Regions from separate parts of the Homo sapiens genome. Here region 1 is linked to region 2. The links are contacts of gene promoters, found by promoter capture Hi-C in human tissues and cell types (Jung and others, 2019). All regions are on one chromosome and are shown on one strand. Each heading gives the region's core, a stretch centred on a gene start or on the middle of the fragment in contact. The rest is flanking DNA. Distances are from core to core; before and after follow the strand shown. Region 1 overlaps WNK1 (WNK lysine deficient protein kinase 1). Region 2 holds the start of NINJ2 (ninjurin 2).

Region 1 (6,582 bases), core at 2,577-5,076, 210 kb after region 2:
TGTTCCTGATTATTGTATTTCTAATAACAAATTTTATTATGAATCTGACGATTCTAGCCAGCTAAAATTACAGCCTGAGCAGCATTGACAGCTTAGGTTTTCACTGTCAGTGGGTTTTGCATGGGTTGGGATCAGAACATGTTGTGTGGTATGATCCTTTTCTAAATTTTTCTTACAAAAGTTGACCCAGAGGCCTCTCCCATACATAATCAGGTTAATGTTTCATTTTGATCAAGCAAACTCTGAGGAGATTAAATATTCATTGCAAAAGCCTGACCTCTATACACTTACTTTAGGCCTTCTCTAATTTGTTGTGTTCACTTCTTTCCTTCAGGCACAGGGGCAGAGCCAGGGTCAGCCATCCTCAAGTAGCTTAACAGGGGTTTCATCTTCCCAACCCATACAACATCCTCAGCAGGTGAGAACAATGCATTGCAACATTTTATGAATTAGCAGTGGCCAGAACACTATTTTAACTTTTGTGATTTGTTATATAAATGGCCTGCTAAGTTTTTGAAAGGAAAATTAAGAGGCATACCATGTCTTGTGTTCAGTAACAAAGAAAAAAAAGAGACTTTTCTGTGTTTCAGAAAAATCTCTTTTGTTTAATATACTTTTGAACAATTTAGTAGACATACATTATTACTGATATAATTATCTTTTTAAAAGAGGATTCTACACCTTTTTTTTGAGACAAAGTCTCACTCTGTCACCCAGGCTGGAGTGCAGTGGTGCAATCTTAGCTCACTGCAACCACCGCCTCCCAGGTTCAAGCAGTCCTCCTGCCTCAGCTTTCCACGTAGCTGGGACTACAGGTGCCTGCCACCACACTCAGCTAATTTTTGTATTTTTAGTAGAGACGGGGTTTCACCATGCTGGCCAGGCTGGTCTCAAACTCCTGACCTCAGGTAATCCACCCTCCTCGGCTTCCCAAAGTGCTGGGATTACAGGCATGCGCCACCTCACCCAGCCTGGATTCTACACATAATTTACGGTACAAAGAGTATGTCATTCCTTTTCTCTTTTTTTCCACTGCTTGCAGCAGTGATTTGTCATTACCTTCATTGTGCTTGCCTCTACTAATCCTGCACTTCTTTTTAATTATTTCTAATCTGTAGAATGATGTGTCAGATTTTACGCTAAGAAGCATCTAATGAAAACCTAAGAACAATTACTTCAAGAACATTTATTTATTTATTTATTTTTATTTATTTTGAGACAGCCTTGCTCTGTTGCCCAGGCTGGAGTGCAGTGGTGCAATCTTGGCTCACTGCAACTTCCATCTCCCAGGTTCAAGCTATTCTCACGCCTCAGCCGCCCGAGTAGCTGGGACTACAGGCGCGTGCCACTATGCCCAGCTAATTTTTGTATTACGTTCTACTTATGCCTGGCTAATTTAGTAGAGATGGCGTTTCACCATGTTGGCCAGGCTGGTCTTGAACTCCTGACCTCAAGTGATCCACCCGCTTTGGCCTCCCAAAGTGCTGGGAGCCACTGTGCCCAGCCAAAATATTTTAACTTTTGTTTTGGGGGGCTTGTTCCAGAAAGTTCAAGGAATTCAAGAGATTAGTGTCATCCTGATACATCCAACAGTAAAACTGGTAATTCTAAAATTAAATATTTATAGTGCATCACTGATATTAGTTAATAGTAATTATTTGCAAGGGAATAATGCATTTTTGGCATAATTGAATACTTATTAGCTATTCTACATAAAATTTGTAGCCACTATGTATGTAATGCAAACTTCCTAATGTTAGTTCCCCATGTGGGTTTTTTAATCAGCAAACTCTAAACTGGCTTCTGTTTCTATTAGTTTTTGGTTTTGAAACAAAGTTTTCGGTTCTTAATTACAAATGGCCCTTTTTCAGTCCAACATATGGTCATGTAGTCATTCGATACTGGTTTAAGATCAGGAGTTGCTTGTACAAGATGAAAATCACTTAAAGGCACTTTCTACAGAAACAGTTGATTAGTTTGTTTATACATGCATTCACTCCGTGAACTGAAGGACTGGGACTTATATGCTTTGTTTTGCACCTGTCCTTTCTTCCAAACAAGACTGGTTAAATTCAAGTAAACATATTTTTGCCAACCTTAACAAAATCTGTTTTATTCTATTAACAGTTCCTAATTAGAATGCAAATTACAAGTCACATAAAGCTGGTTGAGAATGGAAGTACTGAGTACTAATCTCCTAACTTGCTTATCTTTGGATGTAGACGAACACCAATGAACTGAGCAAATTGTATGTGCTCTGTTTTTTCTTTTCCAAAGGAATTGGTTATCTGTCTTGTATTTGGGGATATGTATGTATACTTACTATCAAATGAAGAAGATAATAAAATAATTCATTGAGTTTCATGTTAAGAAAGAGTGTGAGAAAAGAAGAGAGCAGTACCATAAATGTCAGATTAAAAGAATTAGGTAGCTACCTCTCCAGGAGAAAAAAATATGGCTAAATGCTATCTCTACAGCAGAAACAAAAATTAATTTTTGTTTCAGTGATGTTTTTGTTTTAGATACTTTTATAGCATGTGTTGTAGAATCACAAAATTGAGCCCTCGATATATATAGGAAGTGTATTCGGTCTAGAATAATTAACTTCTCCAAAGTCACTTAGATAATAAGGGAGCTACAAATTATAACCCAGAATTCAAGATTCCTAGAATAGTATTGTTTCTTCCATTTTAAATAAAGTTCTGCAGGGACTTAATGATTCTGCAAATGTACCTCAGAAGCTGTCTTTATTTGTTTTAATTATTGGAGTTCCACGTTTGAAAAAAGAAAGGTTGAAAACTTTTTGTACTATATGGATAGTCTATTTTTAGACATGATTTTTGTTTTACGTACTTTCAGGTCCCAATCCCACCTTAGAGAACCATATCTCTTGTTTTATTTTAGTGAGGAAAGAAATATACTTTTGCTAAAATTTACTTTATTTCATGCGTTTCTTGAACATAGTAAATGAGGAATTGCTTTTTTGTGTGTTTTTGTAGGGTCTCGTATAGTGATATACTAGATCTTAGCAAGGTACCAAAAATAGCTGCCTCCTGCTGAAAAGCTTTGTGACCACAAACAAAGTTGTGAACTTTGTCAGACACAGTGCCAGCTACTTGGAAGGCTGAGGCAGGAAGATCACTTGAGCCCAGGAGTTCAAGGCTACAGTGAACTATGATATTGCCACCATACTCCAGCCTGGGCAACAGAGCATGACTCATCTCAAAAAAAAAAAAGCACCGAAGTTGTGAACTACCTACCCTACTATCCATAAAGTCTGTTTGAACTGGTTTCATGAGGCAAGCTTGGGCAGAGCATGATGCTAAACTGTTAAGCTAGACCACCCCTGCCTGGCTGAAGTGCTGATTATTAGTCAGTGGGACTGCGCACAGCAGATCATCATGTACTTCTGGCATATCCAGAGGTGACACTTCTCCCCAGATGCTCTAAGATGTAACATTAACCGTTAGCCATTGTAAACAACTGGTTTAGAGATCTCTTTAAGATGTTAATACAAGGGTCACTGTCATAGATGCCTCTCAGTTGTCTTAAGCAAAGAAATAATTTGTCCATAAAACTGCTCATTTTTGACAGTCCTTTCAGCTTTTTTTCCTAATTGAGTTCAGATACTGAAGGTCTACCGAGCTGGACCAGGTATGACTACTTTGAAAGAGTCTAAATAATATAGTAAATATATATGTAAATTTCTAAAAAACAAATAAGGATAATAGCTAATATTAAAGTGCTTTGTACATTGTACCTACATTCTCATTTAATCGTTTTAAGAACCCTATAAGTATAGATGCTATAATTATTTCCATTTTACTGATGGGAAAGCTGAGATCTGGAGAAGGTGAGTAGTTTACCCAAACTTACAGCTTATAAGAGGTAAAAACAGAATTTAAATCCAAATAATCTAATTCCACAGCTCACCATTTGACTACTACCCAATTATGTCCAAAAAAAGGGAAGAAATTAACATCTCTCCCAAGCAGGAAAGGGAATATCAGGAAGACTTTAGGAAAAAGGAGGCATTTGAAATGGACTTTGATTATAAGTTAGACTCAGATGTAGAAATAAAGAATATTCCAGGCCAGAAGATAAAAAAATTATACTGTGAGCAATGTGAAAGGCCCTAAGATAGAAAAATAGGGTACAAAAACAAATGTGCCTTTAGTTTGGTTTAACTAGAGCATAGATATGTGAAGGTATAAGTTCAGGAAAGAGTTGATAGAGTCTAAATTTTGATATGAGCATAATTTTGAATTAAGGAGGATGTATTGGGGGCTGGGAGCATATGATTACCATATGCCCAAAGATAACATGGGAATTCTTCCTCAAATTTATCCGTTAGAAAAGAGGGGAATAACCATGTATTCAGACCTTTATCGTACTCTCATATTACAGGGTTTTCACTGTCCTTTACTTTGAACAACAACAAACCAAAAAAGGTTAATGAAATAAAATGAAACAGGTGAGAACAAATGTGCCTGCAAAGACTTCAGCTCATGTAGTTAGAAATGTTCATTGAGAACATCAGACAGAATATTTTTAAGGAATAAACATAAATTTAGTCCTTATTCTCAGCAATATGACTTCACTATTCTGAGGACTGTATGTGATTTTAAACAACTGGCTTAAAGATCTCTTTAAGATGTCAATATAAGGGTTACATGAATAAAAACCTATAAGAGAAAGGAAAAAAAAATCTAGTTTTATTTTAATGTTATGTAAATAGGTGCTTTTCACTGCACATTTTACCTGAAGATACAACTTAGATGGAATGTGTTATGTTATGCCAGAAAACTGCAGGAGCGTTCATAATTTAGCTTCAGTGAAGGTAAAGATGCTGGTGTCTTTACCTATGTAGAGTTTGGGGGAGAGGGAGCAGTATTTCTGAATTAATATATTTAATATGCAATCTTATTTACGTGTGTAAATTAATGAGTTAGATAATTATAGATATCTCATTCACATTCCTTAAAGTTTAAATTTGTTCAAGTTGGCAAATAAAAAAGGTTTTCTGGTTTTTTAGTTCCTTTTTCTCAGGTGGGAAATTAACAAATTTGTCTTATATTCAGAGCACCTTTAGAATTGGCTACATGTGGTTTATCTTAGTTTGCAGAAAATAAATTTCATGTAATTCAGCAGCCATTTCTGCTTCTTTAAAAGTTAAAATAAGAATACATTATCAGAGGCCGGGGCGCGGTGGCTCACGCCTGTAATCCTAGCACTTTGGGAGGCCGAGGTGCACGGATCACAAGGTCAGGAGATCAAGACCATCCTGGCTAACATGGTGAAAACCCGTCTCTACTAAAAACACAAAAAATTAGCCGGGCGTGGTGGCAGGCGCCTGTAGTCCCAGCTGCTCAGGAGGCTGAGGCAGGAGAATGGCATGAACCTGGGAGGCGGAACTTGCAGTGAGCCAAGATCGCGCCACTGCACTCCAGCCTGGGCAACGGAGCGAGACTCCGTGTCAAAAAAAAAGAATACATTATCAGAAATAATTAAATAGGAATAAACCAAACATGACTGCTGTTGCCATTATATTTTAGCATTCTTTTGGTGATTTTAATTGACATAAATATAAGAAGAGCAAAAATATTATTTGTAGATTATCACCTAACAAAATCTAAGACACTTATCAAGGTGGCAAGATACATAATAAATGTACAAATAAATAGCTTATCTTTATACCAGCAGTAACCAATTAGTCGTATGGGTATACCAGCACATACGTAAAAGGCTGTTGGTTGCAGCATTATTTTAAGTAGCAAAAATGAAACAACCAAAGTGTTTATCATTAGGAGACTGATGCCATTTAGAAATTAAAGTAGTATGCTATAGAACACTATGTATAGGAAAGGCATGTTTTTGTTTTGTTTATTTTAACAAAAAAAGAAAACTATGTGAAAATGGCCACTTACGCATAGAAAAAAATCCATGAAGGTTATGCACCAAACGACTAATAGTGGTTACCTCTGGAGAATAGGATTAGGGGTATTTTCATTAACTTTATAATATGATGTACTAGTTAAAATTTTTATTACAAGCAGATGTTGTATTAAAGAAAAAATATAAATTAGGTATTAGAAGATCTTGAAAGTCAGCCCTAAACTTCATTTTTTTTTTTTTTTTTTTTTTTTTTTGGAGACAGAGTTTCGATCTTGTTGCCCATGCTGGAGTGCAATGGTGCAATCTCGGCTCACTGCAACCTCCGCCTCCCAGGTTCAAGCAATTTTCCTGCCTCAGCCTCCTGAGTAGCTGGGATTATAGATATGTGCCACCACGCCCGGCTAATTTTTTGCAATTTTAGTAGCGATGGGGTTTCTCCATGTTGGTCAGGCTGGTCTTGAACTCTGGACCGCAGGTGATCTGCCCACCTCAGCCTCCCAAAGTGCTGGGATTACAGGCGTGAGCCACCGCGCCCAGCCTCAAGTTTTTATTTGTTAGACAGAAGGGGCAGTACTCTAGGGGTCATAGTCCTGTTTTGTTTGGTTTTGTTTGCTTGATTTATTACAGAATTTAGTATTCGAGTACAGTTATGTTCCATGCATTAAATTAGGTGTATAATTACGCACC
Region 2 (6,486 bases), core at 2,709-5,208:
GACTCTGGGAGATGCGCAGGCTTAGCTCCCTGGCAGGGCTACCAGTGAAGGCAGGGAGAAGGGCAGAGGCTTGGAGGCCACAGCCACAGGCCATAGAACAGAAGGAGCAGCTCCAGGCATCCAGCTGGTGGAGGCCACCTGCCCTGAGTGCTGTGCGCCACTCTTCACAGCCAGCTGTGCTGCTGCTACCCATCCCAGTCTCACAGGTCTTGACCTGGAGATACATTTGCAACATTGATTATAGAGGCTCAAGTTAATGTTATTTTAGATTAGAGTTTCCCAAACTTCAGTTGTGCCATGTTCAGGGTTTCAACGTCTCAGTGCAGTAGTAGGTGCGGGCACACACACCTGTGATCCATGTCACCCAGGGCTGCCGTACTTCTGAACAGGTCAGACAGAAACAGTTACTAAGACATTGAGGGTATGCCCAGGTCATGTGCAAGGACTGTATAAAGGTGTCAAAAAACTTCCTGCCACTTACTTGAGGCTCATCCTAAGCAATAAAAATGTTGGAATTGCCTGGACATGTGGCTCATGCCTGTAATCCCAACACTTTGGGAGGCCAAGACAGGAAGATCACTTGAGACCAGCAGTTAGAGACCAGCCTGGGCAATACAGTGAGACCCCAATCACTAAAAAAAGAAAAAAAAAATTAGCTGGGCATGGTAGTGCACATGTGTGGTCCCAGCTATTTAGGAGGCTGAGGCAGGAGGATAACTTGGGCCCAGGAGGTTAAGGCTGCAGTGAGCCAAGATTGCACCACTGCACTCCTGCCTGTGTGACACAGCAAGATCCTGTCTGTTAAAAAAAAAAAAAAAAAAAAAAGGAATCACAGGTCTGATAAGTTGTTATGCTTTCTTTCTTTTTTCTTTTCTTTTTTTTTTTTTTGAGACAGAGTCTCAAAAGTGCAGTGGCACGATCTCCGCTCACCACAACCTCTGCCTCCCAGGTTCAAGCAACTCTCCTGCCTCAGCCTCCTGAGTAGCTGGGACTACAGGCGTACACCACCACGCCTAGCTAATTTTTGTATTTTTAGTAGAGACAGGGTTTCACTATGTTGGCCAGGATGGTCTGCAACCCCTGACCTCGTGATCCGCCCACCTCAGACTCCCAAAGTGCTGGGGTTACAGGCGTGAGCCACCTAGCCCGGCCCTGTTATGCTCTTTCTAATGAATACTGAAACTATAAAGATGGCCAGCTATGGTGGCTCACACCTGTAATCCCAGCACTTTGGGAGGCCGAGGCTTGTGGATCATTTGAGGTCAGGAGTGCAAGACTAGCCTGGCCAATATGATGAAACCCTGTCTCTACTAAAAATATGAAAATTAGCCAAGTGTGGTGGTACATGCCTATAATCCCAGCTACTTGGGAAGCTGAGGCAGGAGAATCACTTGAACCCAGGAGGCGGAGGTTGCAGTGAGCTGAGATTTTGCCACTACACTCCACCCTAGGCGACAGAGTGAGACTCCATCTCAAAAAAAACTGTAAAAATAAACATTATAATAAAAAGCTGTCAGCCATTGATGTACCTTTACCACCCATTGGTGATAATTGTACCACATTTTGGGGAAACATTGTTTTAACTAAAGAGTGTTATTGTTTTGTTTTTAGAGATAGGGTCTGGCTCTGCCGCCCAGGCTGGAGTGCAATGGCATGATTGTAGCTCACTGCAACCTTGAACTCCTGGCTTCAAACAATCCTCCCACCTCAGCCTCCCGAGTAGTGGGGACTACAGGTGCATGCCACCATGCCTAGCTAATTACTTTTAAATTTTTAATAGAGATAGGGTCTTGCTATGTTGCCCAGGCTGATCTCTAGCTCTTGAGCTCAAGTGATCCTCCTGCCTCAGCCTCCAAAATGCTAGGATTACAGGCGTAGGCCACCGTGCCCAGCCAAAGGTGGACAATAAATTGTAGAAAATAATGGATAACCTTCTGAGCAAAGGAAAATGTAAGATACAAGAATTAAATAGCATATTAGAAGAGAGTGAATGACAAATGAAGAGAAAGGTACACTAACACCTCAGTTACCTGCTAGAGAGAGACATTCATCCAGCCTAGCCAGTCATTTCCTTCTCCTTCCTCCCACCACCTCTTTCCTTCTGAACCTCTGGTTCAGATGCAGAGTCCTTAGCCTGTAACTCTGGATCGTTCAACCCATCAGCACATAAGAAACTTGCTCTTCTGAGAATGAAAATAAGCAGCAACACAATTTCCTTAACAACCAAGGATCTTATAGAGGCAAGAACTAGAAGTAAGAAGAAAACACATACTAGGGACAGAAGACATGGACTGGAGGTCTTGGGCCAATTAGGTGACCTTATTCCTATCTCAGAGCCTCTCCAACTCATGGCTTCCTCAACTCATTCATTTAACAAATGTTTTCTAAAGCAATGACCGTGTACCAAGAGTTGCCTCATGCACTCGGGCTGCAGCAGTGAATAAAACAGGAGAGGCCCTGCCCTCAGAGATCTTGTGTCCTAGTGAGAGTGACAGGCAATACATACTAAATAAATAAGCAGTGTAACTTTAGGTGGTGAGCAGTGCTATGAAAGAAATTAAACAAATGATAAAGACAAATTGGGGAGGAGGCATCCTGTGAAGAGGTTGGTCAGGGGAGGGCTCCTGGGGGAAGTAACATTTGAGCTGAGACCTGAATGTACTAGGAAGGGCCAGCCAGGAGATAAGCCAGGGAAAGAAGGTTCCAGACAGAGGGACAAGCAAGCCTTGCGGTGGGACCGCTCTCGGGGCTGGCTGCCAATCCAGGAAAACAGCACTGGGTATGCAGTTGTACTAGGTGAATGGTTTTGACACAGCACACCAAGCAGTCCTACAGTTCCCTGGTGGTGTCTCAAGGGCGGAGGGGCCAAGGACAGAGACTCTGCCAGACTCACGCCACCCTGCCCAAAACACACACAGAGAACGAGAGAGAGAGAGAGAGAGAGAGACGCGTGCACATACTCTGCTTCAACAAAACAGCTCTTCTTTAATCCGAAGTGTATATTGGGTGGCTGCTTAAGATTTTGTTCGAGGACCAGGTTCAGGGATCAGAAATTCTTGATCTCAAAAGTCCTTTTCCACACTTTGTTTGATTCTCTGCAATGTTACACAGCCTCAGCAGTGGTCATAGAAGGGTTCGTTCTATTCTATCCATTGGCAAGGAGTCACAGAGTGCAGCTCCCAGCAATCTGGCTCTCCTCTCACCGTAACATCCCACCCTTTCCCCTCCAGCAGTGGACTGGAACCTCTGATGCCTTCCAAGCCCATCCCAGCTACAGAGGGACACACATCTCTGCCTCTTCCTAGGAGATTAGACTGATTTCCTTTCCTTGCACTGTCCAAATGAGACGCTTTCTGTCCTACACAGTAGAGCTTTGTGAAGACAGCCGAGAAACGGCTCAAGTTTTTTCCAACCTGTAAAATGCAAAGTTGGCCAGCTGCCTCTCTTCCTAGCCTCAAAACTCATATATTTCCTGTCTCCCCGGCAGCTCTAAGAGAAGTCTCTACTGTCCTGGGGTTTGGGGAAAGCACTGCTCAGAATGTGAAATCATTTTCTGGTAATACGGATCTAATTAGCTCTTTGACTGACAAGAGGAAGCAGAGGCCAAAAGGGAGTTAACCAATCTGTTTTTCAGATATTTCAAAACAAGTGAAGAACCAGATAGGGAAACAGAGAGAAAGAGAAAATAAAGAGACAAAGCCTAGGGAGCATTTGGAGAAGGGAGTGAGTAAGAAGAGAACGGGGAGGGAGAATATCAAGTGACTAAAGTATCAATCCTCTGTTCTTCCAGCTTCACCTCTACTCCCGGTCTCCCCTCTGCTCTCTTCCAGAGAGAACTTACTTGAAGGTCGATGTTTTCTCTTGCTGATTCCATCTCGCTGCCCTCAAGTCCCTTCACACGCACCGGGTGCCGGGAACAGACTGCGTGGGCTCCTCCAGGCTCCGCCGTCTGAGTCTCTGCTGCTTTCTTCGGGTGGGAGAGAGCACACAGCTGGCGGGACAGACCTGCCATTCATCCCTCTGATGTGGGATGCCCGTCTTGGCTGCAGCCTCTGGGGGAGGTGTGCACCTGCACACACGTGTGAGTGTATGTGTGTGCACATGTGTGTGCTCCAGGAGGTGGCACATGGCACACTGATAGGTGACCTTTTGAGTTGGTAGTGACAGCATCATTTTCACCAGTGGCTCCAGTGACCTTCCAGTCCCAGCGGAGCCATCTGAGGTCACCCAGCCTGCTTTGAGCTAGTAGCTTTATGACTGGCAAAGAAATCCTGCATGTTTATCAAGCAAATTGAAAAACAGCCTGAGGACAACGCTATCTGACTTCACCGCTGGGTCCAGTCCCCAGTCGCCACGGGTGGAGTGACCTCCAGCACAGTCTCAATACTGAGGCAGAGGGATTTCCGTTGTTCTTTGCTTTGTTCCCTATATCCCTAAAAGTTTTTAAAAAAATTGTAGTTTACCTAATAGGCTCCAAAGCATAGGCTTTGTTCTGCAAAGTGAGTGAACAATACGTTTTTACTGACGGATTGTTTGATTCCTTCAACTCCTCCCTTGATTAGCCATAGAGGGAGCAGGGAGTAGTTGTACCTTCGAAGCTTGTTTATGCAAACAGTGGTATTCTCCCTACTTTTAAAATAAAATTACCAGGAGGGAGTCTTTTTTTAGAAAGTTTTTTTTTTCCTCTCCTGTTTACCTTAGAGCCCAAAACTCTTCTGGCTTGTTCCTGAAGCAAGGTTTAGACACAAGCTTGTGCAGGTGTGGGTGTGGGTATGTCTGTAGACGTGCATGGCAGGGTGTTAACCTGTAATCCAATTCAGGGCTTGAAGAGGTGCGGGCAGGAGGAAGACAGGCAGAGTCAACACGTTTACCCTCACCACATTCAAATGTAAAAAAAAAAAAAGGCGATTTCTTCAGTTCTATGAAATGCCTTTATAAGTTCCCATCCCTCTGGACAGTGGTGCGAGGGAGGGTTGGATGATTGGATGGGGGCCATATTTTAGTCTAATCTATGAAGCATAGTTGGATTTAATCATTTAAATGGTAAACAGTCCACTTTAGACACAATGCTCAGTCTTTCGGATTTGCAGAAGATGGCACCTAGGTGCACAGGAGGGCGGGGTGGGGACGGTTCTTGCATCTATCCTGTGGCCTCTCCATCTCGGCTCCTTTCTGTTCTGGAGCTGCTGGGCCCACGGGCCCGCCCGAATTGCTGACTGCTGAGGAGACACAGGTCCTGCTCCTGGGTCTTCTGCTGGCCTTGGTGGCTGATGTCTGATATTAGGCCAGAGTCACTCATGGGTGATTCTCTTTCTGCCTTTGAGATCCAGTGTTCTCCCTTGCTGTCTGCGCTACCTTGGCTCGTGGCAATGTGGACCATCCTGAGACCTGGCTTTGACTTGTATGTGCCCCCATCCCACTGTATCCGCTCAGTGGCCCACATCTCTAAGATAAGCCCCTCGAAATTTTCCTGTGAGATGCTTGACCAGTGCTCCTGAGCCCCCTTAGGCACATGGGGACTGAGGGCTGCTGACGAAGGGCAGGGGAAAGGCAAGCTCAGCCCCACTTCCAGCAGAGTTTGCTCTGATGTGGCTGCTCCAACTGACACAGGGCAGTCTGCGAGGTGATCTCCTTCCACATTCCTGAATGGAAATGAGACCTGGAACCCACTCTTCTCAGCACTCCTTAAAAAGTCTACCAGTAATATCTATCACCCCACCGCTCATAATAATACCACTATGTATCAAGCACTATTCTAAGCACTTTTTTTTTTTTGAGATGGAGTCTCGCTCTGTTGCACAAGCTGGAGTGCAGTGGCGCCATCTCGGCTCACTGCAACTTCTGCCTCCTGGGTTCAAACGATTCTCCTGCCTCAGCCTCCCGAGTAGCTGAGATTACTTCTTCCCATAGTCCCCTTAATCTAGAATCAGAAAATGTACGCTTTGTCTTCTTTTTTTTTTTTTTTTTCCTGTTTGGCTGGGATGTATCTGATGTAGAACTCTATGACAACAATTCAAAGGGAAATGAAGAAATTTAGAAAATCCTCTCTCTCAAGAAAACCTGGTTGTCAAAAATATTGTCTTGGCTGGGCAGCATGGCTCATACCTGTGATCCCAGCACTTCGGGAGGCCAAAGCCGGAGGATCTCTTGAGCCCAGGAGTTCAAGACCAGCTTGAGCAACATAGTGAGATCCCATCTGTAGAAGAACTTTTTGGCTGGACATGGTGGCTCACACCTGTAATCCCAGCATTGTGGGAAGTAGAGGCAGGAGGTCACTTGAGCCCAGGGGTTCAAGACCAGCCTGGGAAACACAGTGAGATCCTGTCTCTACAAAAAAAAAATTTTTTTTTAATTTAGCTAGATGTGGCAGCTTGCAGCACCTGTAGTCCCAGGTACTTGGGAGGCTGAGGTGGGAGGATTGCTTGAGCCTGGGAGCTGAAGGCTGCAGTGAGCTATGATCATGACACTGTACTCCAGCCTGAGTTG

The links. Contacts are between HindIII fragments. The study calls those that stand out against the background at their distance.
Region 1: a fragment that was not itself captured here is called in contact with the fragment with the promoter of NINJ2 in region 2 in 1 of the 25 tissues and cell types used here (dorsolateral prefrontal cortex).

What each region holds. Positions count from the first base shown.
Region 1 is chr12:870,931-877,512 of GRCh38, forward strand. WNK1 (WNK lysine deficient protein kinase 1) reads left to right here. Exons shown (of 28, transcript NM_018979.4): 9 at 335-418. Among named protein-coding and RNA genes, the nearest start is that of RAD52, 75 kb to the right of the region's middle. The HindIII fragment of the contact is 5,080 bases long and covers 1,287-6,366 here.
Region 2 is chr12:659,487-665,972 of GRCh38, forward strand. It overlaps NINJ2 (ninjurin 2), which reads right to left and starts at 3,959. Exons shown (of 4, transcript NM_016533.6): 1 at 3,842-3,959. The coding sequence starts at 3,874. The HindIII fragment of the contact is 21,671 bases long and covers 1-5,850 here.